Regions from separate parts of the Homo sapiens genome. Here region 1 is linked to region 2. Evidence: promoter capture Hi-C in human tissues and cell types (Jung and others, 2019). All regions are on one chromosome and are shown on one strand. The core of a region is centred on a gene start or on the middle of the fragment in contact, and the rest is flanking DNA. Distances in the headings are between cores, read along the strand shown. Region 1 has its middle 22 kb from the start of PDE3B. Region 2 holds the start of PSMA1 (proteasome 20S subunit alpha 1).

The links. The method cuts DNA at HindIII sites, captures the fragments that hold promoters and counts their contacts. A contact is called where the count stands out against the background at its distance.
Region 1: a fragment that was not itself captured here is called in contact with the fragment with the promoter of PSMA1 in region 2 in 2 of the 25 tissues and cell types used here (H1 embryonic stem cells and spleen).

The regions. Positions count from the first base shown.
Region 1 is chr11:14,618,925-14,625,196 of GRCh38, forward strand. It overlaps a transcript of PSMA1 not described here. Among named protein-coding and RNA genes, the nearest start is that of PDE3B, 22 kb to the right of the region's middle. The HindIII fragment of the contact is 6,392 bases long and covers 1,592-6,272 here.
Region 2 is chr11:14,517,435-14,524,105 of GRCh38, forward strand. It overlaps PSMA1 (proteasome 20S subunit alpha 1), which reads right to left and starts at 2,952. Exons shown (of 10, transcript NM_002786.4): 1 at 2,863-2,952; 2 at 1,563-1,607; 3 at 446-547; 4 at 208-311. The coding sequence starts at 2,865. RefSeq lists enhancers at 2,745-3,359, 2,894-3,083. The HindIII fragment of the contact is 15,381 bases long and covers 1-6,671 here.

The DNA.
Region 1 (6,272 bases), core at 3,538-6,037, 100 kb after region 2:
AAGCTACTAGAATAATAATTCTTGGGTTGATATTTTTGACATGCTGGTATATTTCTGCCTCCACAGCCATTGTGCATTCATTCATTATTCCTTCATCTAGCATGTATTGAATCTCCCTTTGTATTAAGCACTGTGCTAGAAATTCTGGAAAAAAGATGAATAAACATGGCCCTTACATTTAAGCCAGGGGGAAAGACTTAAAATTAATCAACAAAAATATGATTTAAAAATACTGTAATATAGGCTGGGCATGGCAGCTCACGCCTGTGATCCCAGCACTTTGGGAGGCGGAGGCAAGCAGATTGCTTGAGCTCAGGAGTTCAAGACCAGCCCGGGCAACATGGCGAAAACTTGCCTCTACAAAAATAAAAAAAATTAGCTGAGTGTGGTGGTGCACACCTGTGGTCCCAGCTACTTGGTAAACTGAAGTAGGGGAGCCAGGAGATCGACACTTCAGTGAGTTGAGATAGTGCCACTGAACTCCAACCTGGGTGACAGAGAGAGATCCTGTCTCAAAAAAAAAATCTGTAATATAGATTTATACCACATAAAGAGCTAAAAGAATACACGAAGAGGAGAGGTTAATTCTGGCTTAAACCTAGGGTGACTCAGCTTCAAAGAAGAGGTAATTATAAAGAAAAACAAGTAAAAGCCTGAAGAAATTAAGATTAATTTAAATTCATTTAAGTGTTTTTTATATCATATAATAGATTGCTTTCCTTGAGTGTGTGGAGACAGTATAACAGGAGCAAGAGTTGTGATGTCTAACGGGCAAAATAGGGTGTCATAATTTCAAAGAGGTTAGAAATCACTCTCTTAGTACCCTCAAAGTTTAAACACTGGATTACTCAGACCTTGTTATGTGTAATTTCTAGGTGATGAGTACTGGGAAAAATTTGTGCCAAATCAGCATAACTAAAGGGCTTTAATAGCAATCACTTACTTATCTTTATTGTAATAATCATGATAAGGTGACTATATGGCATCAGAACCTAGATAAGTATTTCCCATTTCATAAGTTAGGGCATTTTAAGTTGTATTTTTTAAGGATATTGAGCAAACACTTTTAATTCTCGTGTACCTAACAGTAAGGACAACAGTGATTTGCTTTCTTCTTGGTTATAAACACTCGTGTGTGTGTGCGTGTGTGTGTGTGTGTATGTGTATGTGTATGTTTAAAGGATGTTTTGAGCATTATAACATACCCCAAAGCTCTACCTGAGTTCTTTTTAAAAAGACAATTACAACAGAAGAAGAACAAACAGGATTTCCTCTATAACTAATATTGACTTAACTTTATAGGGTCCTAAGCCTGAACTCCTCTGTTTATTCATGAAACAGATCCAGGCTATTGGTCCATTTGAATTTATTTCCAAACTTCACAGTTCAGACTGTACAGCCAGTTTAACTCTTGGCTTTTCAGGTGACTTCACTTGCAAGGGTTATAGAAAAGGCCACAGCAGTGTTGGGATGTTGCAAAAGAAACCCATGCCCTGGCCCATAGCCCAGTAGACTAGAGTCCCTCAGCAAAAGAGAGTTTCCACTGTTTATACTTGGGAATTATCCCTGGTTTAGCCTTTGTCTCAAACCATCTGGATGTTAAAAGTGCTAATAAGCAACTGACTTACTGGAGGAATAAATTCAATCTAGTGATTCTATTCTGGAAGGCTCTGTAAAGACAGAGATACTGGCAATAAAGCAGCAAAGCAATTTCCCAAGTTTTGAGGTCGTCTAGACCTAGTTGTGAGATATTGATAACAGAGTGGCCACTGGAAATTCTTCATAGTGGCTCAACTTTTTTTGTAGATGAAAGAATTCATGTTTAGATCTTGTCCAACAACCCACTTCCTAGCTTTCTTAAAAGTAGCAAGTGTGGATTCTTTCCTAGAGACCCTGAAATTATTTCACAGCTCTCATTGTGAAAATTGTTGGGAAAGTTTTATGAGACTTGGGGTTTCCTGAGAGTTATCAAGATCATTTTAAATTTGACCACAAAGCTAATGTCAGAGAATAGCAGCTTTAAGGCCTCTCAAATCACAGTATTATACAAGAAAAAATATTCTTTTTTCTTCTAATGAAGAGTAGGGGTGTGTATGTCCTGTTATTATACCTTTTCATTTTCCTGTATTAGCTGTTACATTGACCTATGTCAGAGATGAAAACTGTGAGTGTACTTTTAATTAATTTTTATATGGAAATAGTCATTTAGGTAATGGAAAACACCATTTTTGTGAAATGGCTAGTGGGCATAATTGCACTCATTCATTTTATTTCAAGATCATGTTTTGCTTTATTAGTAAAAAGCATTTGTCAAAAATTTTAACTTTGAGATTTTTCTGAAATTATCTTTCTTTTCTTTTCTTTTTTTTTTTAATTTGAGACCCCTCCGTCACCCAGCTGGAGTGCAGTAGCACCATCATAGCTCACTGCAGCCTCAACCTCTTGGGCTCAGCCTCCAGAGTAGCTGGGACTACAGGCATGCGCCACCACCCCCAGCTAATTTTCAATGTTTTGTTTTGTTTTTTTTGTAGAGATGGGGTCCCATTATGTTGCCCAGGCTGGTCTCAAACTGCTGGGCTTAAGCTGTCCTCCCACCTTGGCCTCCTAAAGAGCTGGGATTACAGGCATGAGCCACCACATTTGGCCCTCAAAATTATCCTAAATATAGCAATGCTAGTAATGAATTGGCACATAGTAACCACCTTTTTCTCTCCACTAGCTATGAAAGTGTCTGTTTCTATAAGTAATTCTTTCTTTCCAGCTTTACAATCAGTTTTCTTTTGAGTTTTCCTTGGAAACCTCACATTCTCAGAAAAATATTGCAGACTCTTTCACTTTAAAGGCCAACACATGTCTCTCATGTTTCATTTAAACTTATGGTCAAGGAGTTAGCTTAATGTCAATCTCTCTATCATATCTGATGGTTCTCTGCGGCCTGGAAAAATACAATTGATAAGATTTACTGAATGCTTTTTATGTGCCAGACACTATTGTAAACACTTTCCATTTAGTAACTCATTTAATCCTCATAACCCTATGAGCTAGGGTCATCAGCTAAATCAACCTGTTAGTAGGCATCTTCTTGAATGTCATACTGAATTTATTAATCCATTCATAAAATACATATAGAATACCTGCTAGGTCCTAGATGCTCTAGACAGAAAAGTATGTAAGACTGGGTACCTATGCAGACTTTCAGGAGTTCGGAGTCAAGCAATTAGTAGCCCCAATTGCAGTTGCTTTGCCGGACACTGTGTGATTAATAGAACAGATTAATGAGGTCTCAGGCACATGGTATGTGGCAACTGATATGATAAATACATTCTTTTCTATTCCAATTAGAAGAGAGGATCAGAAACAGTTCACATTCCTGTGGGTTAGATAATAATTTTCAATTACACTTTTGACTTAGAGCTATGTTAATGTTCCTGCCTTCTGTCATAATATACTCTGAAGAAATCTGGACTGCCTGAACATTCGTCTGATACATTACATTGATGACATTATGCTGATTGTTTAGAATGAGCAAGAAGGCACTAGTATGCTAAAGGCCTTGGTAAGACACAGTGTTCCAGAGGGTTGGAAATAAATCCTATGAAGATTCAGGGATTTGAAACTTCAATGAAGTGTTTTAGGAATGCAATGGTCATAAACATGACAAGATATCCCCTTCAAAGTAAAAGAAAATTGCTGCATCTTGCGTGTGCCACCACAAAGAAGGAAATGAAGTGGCTGGTAGGCCTCTTTGGGTTCTGGAGGCGGCGTATTCCAAACCTATGAATACTGCTAGATTGAGTGACATAGAAAGTTGCCAGCTTTGAGTGAAGAGGTCCAGGCTGCACTGCAAACAGAGCTGCCACTTGGGGCATACAATCCAGCACATCTCATGGTGTAGGTGACAGTGGTGGGAAAACATGCAGTGTCTTACGGCAAGTATCATTGGGAGAATAACAACATAGGGCCCTGGAATTCTGGGGCAAGGCTATGCCATTTGTAGCATAGAATTATATGTCTTTTGAGAAAAAGCTCTTGGTGAATTACTGGGACTGGTAGAGGCAGAGTGCTTCACCATGGGGCACAAAGTGACCATGGGTCTAGAACTGCACATTACAAGTTTGGTTCTGCTGGATATGTTAAATCACAAGGCTGTATAGGTCCAGCAGTAGTCTACTTTAATATGGAAAATTACATCAAGGATTGAGCCTGAGAAGGACAAAGGACATGGCAAATTGCATGCGCAGGTAGCTCAGACCAGCATGTCATTCACAACAGCTGAAATAACACCCTTCCCTAGCTTGTTCCTATGGCCATATGGGGGCCCCGTAAGACCAACTGAAGTAGAAGGAAAGCTTAAGCTTGATTTTTGGGTGGGTCTGTTCTGTATGTGAGTACAAGCTCAAAATGGACCATGGCTGCATTACAACCACATTCAAGGATAGCCTTGAAAGACAGTGGAGAGGGAAAATCTTCCCAGTGCGTGGATCTGTAAAAAGTGCACCTAGTCATTGACTTCTTGTGGAATGAGAAGTGGCCCAGTATATATAGACTTGGGAAATAGCCAATGTCCTGGCTGTCTGGTCGGGGCCTGGAAAGAAAATAATTGAAAGATTTTAGAGAAGGAGTTCTGGGGTAGAGGTATGCAGGTAAACATGAAGAGTTTAGTGTGACATATTATGGCCCAATAGAAAGCATCTACCATGGAAGAGATTGTGAACAGTGAAGCAGATATAATAACCAGACCAGTTTATATAAGCCAGTCTTTGTTGTTGGCTACCCTGAAACTGACATTTTGGCATAAGAAAAAAGTGGCCATGCTGCCAGAGACAGGCTATGCATGGGCCCAGGAGCATGGACCTCCCATCACCAAAGCTGACCTAGCTTCTGCTGCTTCTGAATGTCCAACCTGTCAGCAACAGAGATCAATGCTGTTATATCACTATTTATTAATGAGACCAACTGGCCACTTGGTGGTAAGTCAACTACAAGGGCTAGAGGGTTGTTTTCACCTATTCTGGGTACAGGCTTGTCTTTCCTGATTGTAGTACCTTAGCCAGCACCATAATCCAGGGGCTTAAAGAATGTCTGATCTATGGGTATAGAATACCACACAAAAAACATTTGAACAGGTGACCCATTTCACAGTAAAGGAGATGCAGGATTGAACTCATGACCATGGGAGCTCTAGCTATATCTTCTACAACAAAATCATTTAGAAGTAGCCAACTTCACAGAACACTGGAACAGCTATCTAAAGGCACAGCTGAAACGTCAGCTCAGAAGCAACACTCTCAAAGGAGGCAGTGCCATCCTTTGCAGAGAGAAGCTCAGGATTATTCTTCTTCCTTTAGCTGGTCGTATGGGAACCCTTTCCTCTAGCCCCATTTTAGCCAAAGGTACCAACTGGGAAAGGGATGCTGTTGCAACTGTGGTAGATGACATGGGGATCTGAGCTAACTCAGAGACCTCTATATGGTACCATGTCATCAGCAGGAGGAACACAATGGCCATCGATGGGTGTAATCAGGACTAGCCCTATCTACCATCACTCCCAATAACTCTCAATGGGGGATTTTGGGCTCCCCATATGTGCAACTCTGGGCTCTGCAGGGCTGGAGGTCCCGAGAGGGAGTGCACTCTTGCCAGGGGACAGTGAGTGTCTCATTGAACTATATGTTATAGATACTGCCAGGGCAGTTTGGACACCTCATGTCCAGAGACCTGCAGGCAAGAATAGGGTCACATCTTGGCAGGGGTAATCAACCCTGATCATTGGGAGAAGGTAGTGCTGCTTATAGACAATAAGGATAGGAATATGTATGCAACTCCTATGTCATCTACTTGGAAGCCTGCTGGTACTCCTTTGGCCCACTGTAGCTGTGAAAGGACATGTACAACGACCCTGACTTGAAAAGGGTATGACTGCCAAGAGCTCAGACCCATCAGGAATGAAGGTTTGGGTCACACCACAAGGTAAGCTACCATTACTTGCCAAGGTGATAGCTGAGGGTTGAGAGGACTTGGAATGGATAATAGAGGTGGGAGAAGTTAAGTACCTTGTTGCAGTCTCAAGCCCAACTGCAGCAATGGGGCTCCAGTTCATCTCACTAACTTCCTTCTAAGTTTTCCCTCAGGAAGAAAAGCCCATAGGAAACATGGAGGATGTGTTCCCTAAATTTGCATAGAGAAGCAGATCTGTCCAGAGAAAGAGGTGGACTGTGGCAATCAAGAAAATTTGTCATTCAGCCTGGGTGTGGTAACTCATGCCTGTAATC
Region 2 (6,671 bases), core at 1,702-4,201:
GTGCTAATGTTTAATCTTATTAGTTACTCCTACAGGGATCAAAAAATGGAAAATTTAATAACAAACTCAAAACCACCAAGGTATTCATAATCTTAATTTACAAGAACTTTGGCAGACAACTTCCTAAAATACCTTATCTGGATCTTTTTGAGAAAACTAATCAATTATGAAACAAAAAGGATGTTTATTTTTCATGATTATACTTACCATAACAGTCTAGCATCAGCAGTAAGCCCCGCAATTGAGATACCAATATGGTTGTCAACATGGAGAATTTTTTTCTGATGAGCTGCAAGCTCTGATTGCGCCCTCTAAATAGAGACATTATAAGATGTAAAAAAAAAAAAAAAAGAGACAAATGTAAAAATAAGTTTACAACCTTATTTTCTATGGTGAAATTTACATTGTTTTCTACAGAGGAAGACATATTTATTACTGTACTTACTTTCAATGCAACCAAAACTGCATGAGTTTTTGATTTCAGACCAACTGTGGCTGAACCTTGTTTAACAGCTTCCATTGCATATTCAATTTGATGAATCCTGCCCTAAAGAAAAAAAAAACAAAAAACACACATCTTAGAAGATCTTTTATAAATTAAAAATTAGGGTTTTCAAATATCAGGTGAGCACAGTTAAATCTCAACTGATTTTTTTTTTAATCAAGAGACCTTTTTTTTTTTTTGAGACAGGTTCTCACTCTGTCACCCAGGCTGGAGTGCAGTGGCACAATCTTCAGCTCAGTACAACCTCTGCCTCCTAGGCTCAAGCAGTCCTCTCACCTCACTGTCCACAGTAGCTGGGACTATAGGCAAGCACCACCACGCCCAGCTAATTTTTGTATTTCTTGTAGAGTCCGGGTTTCATGTTGTTCAGGGTGGTCTTGAACTCCAAGACTCAAGCAATCTACCTTCCTTGGCCTCCCAAAGTGCTGGGATTACAGGCATGAGCCACTGCACCCGGCTGAAAGCTTCTTTTAAAATAAATTTTCTTGTGTATATTTAACGTATGCAACATGATGTTATAAGATACACATATATAGTAGGGTCACTATCGCAGAATGAACACATCCGTTGTCTCACATAGTTACCCATTTTCCTCTGCTGTGGCAAGGGCTATAAACTACTCATTTAACAAAAATCTTGAATACAAAACACTACCTGCATTATTAACTGTAGTCTTCATGTTGTACATTAGATCTTTCCACTTGCTCAACCTACATATTTGCTACTTTGTATCTCCTCTTTTTTCCTCCCCACTGCCACCCCCTACCCTGGTAACCACTGTTTTACTCTCTCTATATATATATTTGCCCTTTTAAACAAAAGATTCCACATATAAGTGAGAGCATGAAACATTTTTCTTTCTGTTTCTGGCTTATTTCACTTAACATAATGTCCTCTAGGTCCATCAGGAAACCTATTTTAATTATAAATGCAACTTCCAAGAACGTCTAAAATAATTATATTCCATTTTCCCCAAGCCTACGCTCTCACAAGTTTCTAAATATATTGCAGCCACAAAAAGCCACTTCACAGAAAAGGTTTAAAAACATTATTTTACCTGGGGGCTCCAAACAGTGACATCATTGTCATACTGATTTCGAAACTAAAAGTAAAAGAAAAAAATACCTGTTAATAGAAGAACATTTCAAATCCCAACTCTTAACATTCATTAAGAAATATGCTTGTATTTCCATTCAATGTTAAGGCACTCTGTTCATGCAGTCTTACTGGAAGATTACTACTGTACTCAGATGTAAGCCAATTCTACATTTACCATAAACTCGTGGGAGAGGGAGAAGCAGATCTAAATGGGTCCTATTTTTCCAAACTCTTATTCTAACACCCTCCATATCAACCCCTTTAGGCTCAATTACTAAAGTTCACAATCAACTTTCTTGCCTATTTTTGCTTATGCTGCTCCCTTTTATTGGGCCCTAATAAATGGTTAAAAGTCTTCCTTTTCTTTAAGGTAGCTTAAATGTCGATTTCTTGAAGTCTTCTCCTTTTCTTCCCAAATCCCCCTAACATATACTCCCACAGCTCTTTATCTAAACGTCCCTTTCTGTTTTTATGATTAGGGACATGTATGACTTATTTTTTAATGTTCACTGTAGTTATGCCTGTACAAGTGCTGTCTGTATATTCACATTGAATGAACAAAAATGTCCTCACAAAGTTAGAGGTGGACACAAATAGCTGCAGCGATAGAACCATTACGGCTATTACGACTATTATAATAATAGTCATGGGAGTGAGATTGAGTGCTAGAATGGCAGACAGAACTGGAAACCCAGAACCCTATATTGTAACCCTGATTCCATCACTTCCCCTCTCAGCCTCGGCTTACTCATCCGCAACTAGGTGACTGGACAAAATGATTGAAAAGGGCCTCTTCTAATCGAAGTCTAGGCGAGAGATAAATAGACGGACCCACCAGGAAAACGGACGCTGTCCAGGAACACAAACCTGGGGGTCAAGTCCGCACTGGTGGTACAGGTAGGCCTCCAAGTCAAGTCTCTGTCTTCTCCTCTCCCATACACAGCACTAGGAGCTATTCTGGACCGCTCAGAATCTACTCCACTGAAGGAACCTGAGGGGCGAACTCATCTAGCTGACCGAGGAGGAAGTGTCGGAGGCTCCCCGGGAAGCGAAAGCGGTGGAAAGGCCGCACTGGCTACCGATAACCCCTAGCCCGGCCAGGCCGGAGATGCTGAATCACTGCCGGAGCCCGGCCGTCTGCCGAGGCTCTCATACCTCGTGGCACCGGGCGACGCTAAGGATGACAGGAGAGGTGGCTCGTCATCCCCCAGTCACCAGAGCTCTGCCCTAAACCTTCCAGAGATCGGGATTCAACGTACCATGGTGGCGGCGCGGGCCTGGTTGCGGCCTCCAGCAAAACTGAGAATCAAGGAGGTGCTGCCGAAAGTATCGCTCAGCGATCTACAGAGAAGTCTGCGGGAGTTTGACGGCGGCGGCGCAGGGTAGCGCAGTCTATTCCAGAGATATCGATAGGCTTGCAACACTTCCCCCTCCTTAAAACTTTCCGACCGCTCGGCGGCGGGCGGAGCCTCGGAAGATCTAGGAACTGAGACTGGCGGGAAAACCTGGCTGGGAGTGCCGGCGGCTGAGAGCTGCGGGGCAGCCCCTGTCACGTAGCCCTTCTAGGTTCCTGTGTATGGCGGATTCCCTCCAGTTTCTCCCGCTGGCGGGCTGCATCTAAAGTCGTCCGAGTCAACAGCCGTGACTCTGGGTGATACTAGCTCTCATTAACCGTCCACAGATTTGGGGTGTTATGTGACTGAAAGGAACGAGGCTGCAGGAAAGCCACAAGATAACGATCCGTTTCTGTGTGTCAGCTGTATTCTTCCTCGAGTATCTTGTTTGTGTACATGCTTTTATTTGCATTAAGGTTGGTGCAAAAGTAACTGCGGTTTTTGCCATTTGGCAAAATACTTTGGAATGCTCTTCCTTATTCCCTGGAGATGTTATCTTTCAAGGGTCTGTTGTCGTTAACCCCTCATTGTTATTATGATTGATTTCTTCCACCAGACTTTGAACTCCATGAGGGCGCTAATGTCTTTCTATGCCCCCAAAACCAAGCATGGTACCTGACAGATTAGGCCACTGAGAAAAAATGGACACTTTCTTTCGATTTATCTATTTCGTCTTTTGAGAGCATCTTTCCATAACGAAATAGTCTGACATCCACCGGCTATTTATATTCTTTGTAAAAAAGAGACTGGGTGTGGTGGCTCACGCCTGTAATCCCAGCGCTATTGGAGGCCGAGGGCGGAGGATCGCTTGAACCCAGGAGTTTGAGATCACTATATTATTTTAATACAGTGGGACCTCGTCGCTACAATAATAATAAGAATAAGAATAAGAATAAGAATAATAAAAAAAAAAGGCTGGGCATGTTGGCATGGGCCTGTGGTCCCAGCCACTCGGGAAGCTGATGTGGGAGGATCTCTTGAGCCAGGGAGATCGAGGTTGCAGTGAGCCATGGTCGCGCCGTTGCACTCCAGCCCGCCTGGGCAATAGAGATTCTGTTTCAAAAAAAAAAAAAGCCGGGCGCGGTGGCTCACGCTTGTAATCCCAACACTTTGGAAGGCAGAGGCGGGTGGATCACGAGGTCAGGAGATCGGACCATCCTGGCCAACATGGTAAAACCCCGTCTCTACTAAAAATACAAAAATTAGCCGGGCGTGGTGGCGTGCCTCAGGAGGCTGAGGCAGGAGAATCGCTTGAACCCGGGAGGCGGAGGTTGCAGTGAGCTGAGATCGTGCCACTGCACTCCAGCCTGGGCGACAGAGTGCGACTCCATCTCAAAAAAAAAAAAACAAAAAACAAAGTACTAAATTGTTCTCCAGAAATGTTTTACCAACATATACTCTCAACAGTAGTATATGAGGTTACCTTCTCTAATTCATCAACACTGGTTATTGTCGTATTTCTGAAAAACACTGTTGATTTGGTGGACTAAATTAACAGATTAAATTAATAGATTGTTCTCTTTCGTTTCTCCAGGACCTAGCACAATGCGTAGCACATATTAAGTGTTTATAAATAGTGCTAACTGATTAAATAAATGCTCATTTAAAAATTGTCATATACTACATAAACATTTTGAAAATTCTTTCCATATATATCTCTCTAGTCACATGCCTCACACAGATGTGTAATAAATATACAATTTTTAAAAATAAGATGATACTGTTTTTATTAATACACTTAAAAAGTTATAGCTATCATATGTCCATAAGTAATGGTCTATATTATTTTCAATAGTCGCATAGTATTTTATTGTATGGAAATATAATAATTTGCTTAATTATTAGTGTGCAATTCAATTGTTTCCAAGTTATTGGTATCATAAAAATACTATAATGAATATTCTTGTACATACACACCTATTGTGTGCATAATTACCTTACCTGATGAAGAATTCATAGAAGTAGAATTGTGGGGTCAAAGGGAACTTACATTTACAGTTATGATAAATATGGCTGAGTTGCAAAAAAAGTTATATCCATTTAATATTCTACGCTGCCTGAGAGTCAGTTTTCTCTGTATTCTTACCAACACTGGATATTATAAGTACTTTTTACTTTTATCAATTTGATAGGCCAAAAAAGAAAACCTGTTTCTTTAATTTTTAATTTTATTTATAGTTTTTTATTACTAGTAAAAAAATCTTTTGTTGTATTTCTTGGCTGTTTATGTTACTTTAGTGGATTGCCACTTCATTCCTTTCCTCATATTATTGTGTTAATCATTTTCTTACTGACTTGTAGGAGCTTCCTGTAATTAGGGATGGTAACCTCTTATTACTGTGTCACTTTTATAGAAAGGGCCTTTTGGATACAAATAAAAGAAACCCACTGAATCTAGTTTAAATAAAAGTTGAAGCACACATTGTAAATATGCAACAGGGAATCACATAAATATCCAAACATAATTTTTTGACTTTTTAAAAATTTACTGAGATATTCCTAGTACCTGAAACAAAGCCTGGCATATAGTAGGCACTCACTAAACATTTGTTGAATGAATGAGTGATAGATCTATCACTCCAAACCTGTCCTTCTGATAATTATTTCCTAAGCAAATATCTGGGGCTTTGCGATACATCCTTTATTCACAGCAATTGTCTGTACTCTTCAGAATGGCTGTTATCAAAGCTCTACTTGTAGACCAAAAGAAGGGGCATTTGGTTGACCTTTTTGTTAAGAATGAAAGTCCCAAGGGCTTATTAAAGGTTTATATGATTTTCAGCTCCTCTTTGTGTGTTTTGGGGATTTGGCTCAAGATACATCGTTAAAAACAACAACAACAACAACTTTTTTTTTAGAGACAGAGTCTAGCTGTGTAGCCCAGGCTAGAGTACAGTGGCATGATCATAGCTCACTGTAACCTTGAACTCCTGGGCTCAAGCCATCCTATTGCCTCAGCCTCCCAAGTAGCTAGGGCTACAGGTGCACACCACCATACCTGGCTAATTTTAAAATTTTTTGTAGAGACAGGGTCCTACTATGTTGCCCAGGCTGGTCATGAATGCCTGGCCTTAAAGTGATCCTCCCTCCTTGGCCTCCCAAAGTGCTGAAATTACAGGAGTGAGCCACCATACTCAGCTCCTCAGCTCTCAGGATACATTTTTTTTTTTTTTTTTTAAGACAGGGTATTTCTCTGTTGCCCAGGCTGGAGTGCAATGGCACAATCACTTCAGCCTGGACCTCCTGGGCCCAAGTGATCCTCCTACCTCAGCCTCCCAAGTAGCTGGGACTACAGGCAAGTACCCCCATGCCCAGATAATTTTATTTTTTTTGTAGAGACAAGGTCTTACTTTGTTGCCCAGGTTGGTCTCAAACTCCTGGACTCAAGCTATCCTCCTGCCTGGGCCTCCCAAAGTGCTGGGATTATAGGCATGAGCTACCATGCCCGGCCTCAAGATACATCTTGAGCATTAATCAGAAGCTGAAAAACTGATCAATAAAGATATTTTGTAGGAAGACTAGGTCAGCGAACATAGTACTACTTCTTTAAAGGTCATTGGAAGCCAGGCAAAGTGGCTCACACCTGTAATCCCGACACTTTTTTTTCTCCTGCTAATGCAGGAGAATTGCTTAGGGCCAGGAGTTACCAGCCTGAGCAACATAGCAAGACCCTG